2 separate regions of the Homo sapiens genome follow, and region 2 is linked to region 1. Evidence: promoter capture Hi-C in human tissues and cell types (Jung and others, 2019). All regions are on one chromosome and are shown on one strand. The core of a region is centred on a gene start or on the middle of the fragment in contact, and the rest is flanking DNA. Distances in the headings are between cores, read along the strand shown.

Evidence for each region. Contacts are between HindIII fragments. The study calls those that stand out against the background at their distance.
Region 2: a contact is called between a fragment that was not itself captured here and the fragment with the promoter of WIPF3 in region 1, in 2 of the 25 tissues and cell types used here (adrenal gland and dorsolateral prefrontal cortex).

Annotation. Positions count from the first base shown.
Region 1 is chr7:29,804,726-29,807,943 of GRCh38, reverse strand. It overlaps WIPF3 (WAS/WASL interacting protein family member 3), which reads right to left and starts at 1,436. Exons shown (of 9, transcript NM_001080529.3): 1 at 1,266-1,436. RefSeq lists an enhancer at 791-1,700. The HindIII fragment of the contact is 12,406 bases long and covers 1-2,955 here.
Region 2 is chr7:30,063,706-30,066,923 of GRCh38, reverse strand. All of the region lies in intron 12 of PLEKHA8 (pleckstrin homology domain containing A8), which reads right to left. Among named protein-coding and RNA genes, the nearest start is that of PLEKHA8, 37 kb to the right of the region's middle. The HindIII fragment of the contact is 3,555 bases long and covers 1-3,218 here.

The sequences.
Region 1 (3,218 bases), core at 187-2,686:
GTCCCAGTGATAACTATTAATGCTGGGCACAAGAAGTGCACTCCCAGTCCTCCCTGTGAAGTGAGAAAAGATTCTGGAAAGGAGGAGGCGGAGGGGCACAAACCTTCTAAATCACACTGGTCATGCCAAACAAGGCCCTCATTTACAGCCAAGGACCCCAGGCACAGAGGCGAAGAGACAGCCTAACTTCCTGCTACAGAGTAACTTTCCTCCCCAATACAGCCAGTTACAAAGCGCCCTGAGTGTCAGGGATTGGCCACACTGTCCCAGGGCGCATGGAACCGCTCTCCTGGCCTTTCCCTGCAGAAACTTCTTTCCAGAGGGAGGCGCACACACGGTCCCCACGCCGCCCCGGCGCCCGCCACGGGCACACCCACGCGGCTGGCACGCCACCCTCCAAAGGCGCTGTTCCTGAGAGCCGGTGCCTGCCTGCCCACGGGGCCCGGGCGGCGCTCCTCCAGGTCCAGGGCGGCCGGGTGCCCGCCCTCCCCGCCACCTTCAGAGAGTGCGTGTCAGGGGCTGGGGGAAATCTGCTCTGCCACCTACCTACCCACCACCTAATCCTCCAAAGGACCCTAAACCCATTTGTGGCCAAATGTACATTGCTGGAGCACAGTCTGACTACTGACCCCAGGGGCTTGGAGATGAGCACGGGAGGGGTGTCCAGAGACCTGCGCTCTGTCCCCATGAGCTGTGTGACCTTGGACAAGTCACTTCACATCTCTGGAGTTGGCTTCCTCACTAGGGGGCTCCTTCTGTATTCCCCAAGCCACCTCCGGCTCTGCAATTTCCTAGCTCTCTTTTACTCCGCCCCAGCCCTTCCCGCGACAGCCCCCTCCCCAGCGAGACCCCAGCCTTTTGTTCCGGGGGCGAAGCGGAGAAGAGAGAGCGTCGCGAAGGACCAGGCCGAGGCGGCCTCGGTGCCAGGGGCTGCTCACCGGGGAGTCCAGTCCGGAGAAGTCACCAAGCAACCCCGTGGTGACCTCGCTCCCCACCCCGCGGTTTGTTTCCGCCCGGCCCGGCCCGGCCCGGCCGGGGCGGCGTGGCAGGGTGCGGGTGGGGGGCGTGAGCGCCGCGCGGCACGTCGACAACCTCCTGGGCCCGGGGCTGCAGCCCGGCGGGGGTTCCCCGGCCCTCCCACGCCCTCAGGATCTCTGTCCCGGGCCGGGCCACTCTGCTCCGGGACCGACCAGGGCGGCGGCCGCCACACCGCCCGTTCCTTCCACCCTCGGGCACCGACCCGCACCCGCGCGGGAAGCCGCTACCTGCAGGTGGCGGAGCCGGGGGCTGGACTGGACTCGAGCTCCGGCCGACGTCTCCGCCGCCGCCGCCTCCGGCTCCGGGCTCCGTCCCGCAGCGCCCGTGCTCCAAGCGGCGCCGCTACCGCCGAGCTGCGCTCGGTGCGCCCGGCTCGCTCCCCGGCCACCGGCTCTGGTGCTGCCGGGACGCGGAGGCGGGGCCGCCGCCCCCACCTGCTCGCAGGCTCCTGCCTGGGAGCCGCCGCCGCCCCGCGGCAGGGACACGGCCCCGGCGGGCGGGGTCGCTCTGGGACCCTGGAGGCGGGTCCCAAGTCGGCGGGCGCGCCTCCCGGGTACAGAGTCCCAAGTCTCAGCTGCGGAGAGACTGAGGCCTAAGGCTGGAATTCCCCAAATAGGAGCTGTTGCGCGGGCGGCACACGGCCCAGCACAGCTACTCTGGGGACACGCCACTCCTTGAATTTATTCCAAAATGTTGAGCCCTTACTAAGCTCCAGGCGGTGTCATAAGCGATGGGGACGAGAGAACAAGATTACCTCTTGCCCTCGTGGAGTTCACAGTCTAGAAAAGGAAAGCGACCAATGGGCGATTACAGCACAACCAAGAGGAGGCAGAGGCCTCCTGAGCCGGCTCCCAGAGGGAGCACCTGATCTAAACTTGGGGTGGGGAGTAGGTCAGGGAGGGCTTCTTGAGGAGCTGACGTCGACGAGAAAAACTGAAGACTGAGTGTGAATTAGCCAGGTGATGAGAGAATTATCCGGGTAGCCTGGGGAGGTAGATTGATGTCCCAGGTAGAGTCGAAGGGAGGAGAAAGCAGACTGAAAACTGAAATAGGGCCGGGCGCGGTGGCTCAAGCCTGGAATCCAAGGACTTTGGGAGGCCGAGGTGGACGGATCACTTGAGGTCAGGAGTTACTAGCCTGGCCAACATGGTGAAGCCCTGTCTCTACCAAAAAATACAAAAGTTAGCCGGGTGTGGTGGCGCTCTCTAGTCCTAGCTACTCGGGAGGCTGAGGTGGAAGGATCTCTTGAACCCAGGAGGCAAAAGTTGCAATGAACCACTGCACTCCAGCCTGGGCGATAGAGTGAGACCCTGTCTCAAAAAACCAAACCAAACCAAACAAAGAAACAAACAAAAACAAACCTGAAATAAGCTTGAAGAACGGAAAACCTTGCTTCTGTCACATTTCTTGTTCAGGCCCTTGGAGGATGCAGAAAGTTTGTGTCCGAGGCTGAATGCATTGCTGTAGGTGCTGAGATCATTGGGTGAGGATTCTGTATTGCCCATGTCCTGGGCATTCCTGCTAGTGGAGGAGCTAAGCGGGTACTCGTGGACTGTTCACTCAGCCTCGGTGTTTGAGTATCTGCCATGAGCCAGACACTCTGCAGGGCCTCAGGGCAAGGTGTCTAACTCTAAAGTTGCTGCTGGTCTGGAATAGAGGAGAAACCTGGCGCTCAGCGCTGTGCTGAGGCTTGTGTGAAATGTTGGGGACCCAGGTGAGGGAGCAGCCAATGCCAGCAGGGAAGATCTCACACGTGGATTGCAGCCTGTATTCAGGTTCAAGTTCTGTAGTGGCTGCTGTCAAAGTATGTTCCCCAAGCAGCCCTTAGCTGATCTCTTAATTACTCATGTTTGTAGCTGGGCAATGTGTCGAAAGCAAGGATTAATAATACACTTTTGATGTCTTTCACTCCAGTGTCGTCAAGAACATGGTTTTCTCTTTTGATTTAGGTGACGAAAGGTCTATGTGTAGTGAGTGGAAGCTGATGAGGCACTTGCTTTCCACCTGTTTGTCCTGAGTTCCTCTTGCCCTTTCCTCCTTTAGAATCATAATAGATGACCACAGGTATGGAACCTGAAGAACAGTTCTCCAACATAAAATTCATAAGCCCTCTTACATGGGTGATTGTTACTAAAACAAAAACAAAACCCAAAACCCCAAAACATGACCCAGCCACTCTC
Region 2 (3,218 bases), core at 329-2,828, 260 kb before region 1:
TGAGTTCTGACTTTATCTCTCTCACTTATCTCTCCTTATCTGTGAAAGCCTTTCATATTAAATACATGACTGAGCATCCTTTTAAAATTTTTTCTATTCTGTGCCAGAAAAGGATCTTGGTTGGGTTAACTTTTACTGACATTTATGGGATCATTCTGAGATGAGATATGTGGCAATATGTTATCCCACTGAGCACAGAGCATATAACATTTAATACAATGGTGCATGAAATGCCAGAGCAACTTTTCTTCCTTCCACTTGCAAGGATGCTTTCCAAAACCTCTTTCTGATGTGGAATATGCAATGGAGAGGGGGACTCAGCTCTAAAGCAGATTATTAAACATATCTGCCTTGTGAACCCAACTCCCTCCTGAAAATGACCTCTAAAGAATGTTAGGACACTAAGGGAACACAGCAGCTCTTAGCATGAAACCACCCAAAATGTTCCACTCTGATTATCATTATGGGGAAGCCAAGTGATGGCTCAAGTGCAAAAAGGGGCAGTGTAAAGTCTAAGGCTCCTTCCAGATGCTGGAAGTATTCCAGGTCACAGAACTGCAGCAATACAATAACTAGAGATGCATTTTCCAGAAAGGTAAAGGAGACAAGGCTTCTACAATGTTATTTAGGACTTCTACATATAAATGTACTATTTCCAAGGCCATTAAGACCATACAAGTTTCATGAACATTCACCTCAAACCTTACTTAAGCAGTATTTTTATTGGAAAGCTGTCTAATTATGATGAAAAGGAGGAAAATAAACTGATGCTATAACTAATTTCAGCAGTTTTACTCCTGCTTATTAAAAATCTCTTAGATGCAGTCAAAATCACAAAATTATCAAGATGTAGACAAGTGACAGGTGAACCTCAAAGGCCTAAGTCTAGATGACTAGGTCTCAAACTTCAGCATGGATTAGAATCATCTGAAAGACTTGTTAAAACACGGACTGCCAGGCCCCAGCCTCAGTGTCTGATTCAGCAGGTCTGGGGTGGAACCGGATAGTCTGCATTTCTAATGAGTTTTCAGGTGATAAAGATGCTGCTGACCTTGGAACAGCTTGAGAACCACCGATGGAGATTTTGAGACCCTAGGGAAGGTATTTATCCTCTTTAAACCTCAGTTTATTCACTGGAGAGTATTTGGAAGATTAAATAAAATATTTATCAAAAACTTAGTGTAGTAGTTACACTGGGTGCTCTGTAAGTGATAGCTGTTTTTAAATTCAACTTTAGAATTTAAAAAAGCCAACAAACTTGCCTATATATGGCATATAAATTGCACACACTCTCTTTTACCTACTCACTCACCCTCCCTCATTTCAAACAAGGTATCAGTTCTACTTATGAAGGCTGGGACTTCAAAATGAGAAAAAGGAACCATTATCCCAGAAGAAATATGCATCAAGGAGCCTACAGGTTCTGAGTAACTATTGTGTAAACATTTCTCAAAAAACCGTTTACGCAGAGCTTGTTGTGTCTGTGTCTGTGGGAGGGGAGGGTGGGTTTAACAGGGGAACTTTGGAGGGAGGGTGGGTTTAATAGGGGAACTTTATCTCCTCATACTAAGCAGCAGCAAGAAACTAGGGATTTCCACAAAGATAGGATTTAAATCATAAACACCTTCTTTGAAATAAGCCTGAACATCAGGACAAAAATGTCAAATTTACAGCCTCCCTTCTCTTTTCCATTGAAAATTGTGCCGAAGGAGAAGAGAGGGAAGAAAAAGCTGAGACTGGCTGTGATTATTGCAGTCACAAAGCAGCATTTGCCCTTCAAAGTCTCCTCTTTCTTCACAAAGTCAATACATCCCCTGGGCCCAGTCTCCAAATCAAGTACAACATTTGATGAGAAACCTTGAGGAGAAAAGGAGAGAGAAAAGTGGGCAGAATTGGGGTTGGGACTGGATAGAAATGGTATATCCTGTTTCCTTTCTATGTCTAGGGGGGTCAAAGCCCATAAGCAGCTGGGTTCCGTTCCACCCCAGCTCTTCCAGTGGGCTAAATGGGATCAGCATTGTCCTACTCCCCTTCCATAGACAGCCCTAACAAAGTAATAGCAGCATGAGACAAGCGGAGTCCACTGGGCACACAGTGCTAAACCCTGTATCTTCTGCATTTCCAACAGGTGGAGAAGTCTTTCTGCTAGCATGAAAATTCCATACTAATAAGTTAGTTTGAAGTGAAGTTTCTGGCTTGGCACCTAAGCTTTGTAAACTTTCCATTACTGATGTGGGACAAATAAGTCTTATTTTCTGGCAGGTTATTAACTTCATATATCATGATTATGATAATGATGACAAAACATCATTATCACAACAATAGATGCTAATCTTGACGACTGAGCATTGTTTTTTTGTTTGTTTGTTTGTTTTTGAGACAGGGTCTGGTCTCACTCGATTGCCCAGACTGGAGTACAGTGCCATGATCACAATTCACTGCAGCCTTGACCTCCTGGGTTCAAGCAATCTTCCCACCTCAGCCCCCTAAGTAGCTGGGACTACAGGCACGCAACACCATACTCAGCTAATTTTTGTAGAGATGGAGTTTTGCCGTGTTGCATAGGCTGGTCTCAAACTCCTGAACTCAAGTGATCCTCCTGCCTCAGTCTCCGAAAGTACAGGCATGAGCCACCACACCCGGCCACACTGAGTGTTTTGCGTACCAAATACTTCTGTAATTTTTTCACATGCACATGCACCTACTTAATATTTACAACCACCTTGTTAGGGAAATAATATCACCATTCCCATTTTATAGATGAACAAAGTGAGGATCAGAGAGGTTAAATAACTTGCCTAAGGGCAGAGCACTAATAAGTGGCAGAATCCAGAGAGCCACTCCAGAGCTCCTGATCCTACACTCCACAAGCCATAAAGCTTGACAGATACTGGCTAGGGGGCATGAGTAGACATGCTGAATATACTTTTAGTACTTGAAATCAGGACACAGAGGGGAGAATATAACTGAGACCATCCTGAAATTCAGGGATGTATGGGGAATGTAAAAATGCAGGTGGCCCAGGAATGGTGGAAAAGACCCTTTGTAGGAGAAATGTGGACCTTCAAAGCAGGGGCCTCAAAGCCACTCTGCTTCAGACCTTATGCTGGTCTTAAGCAATATTTTAATCTTACAGTTCCCTAACCTGTAAAAATGGATTGAAATGAGGATTAAGTTTATGAAGTCTACATTGTTCACAAAGTGCTATAGAAATGTCA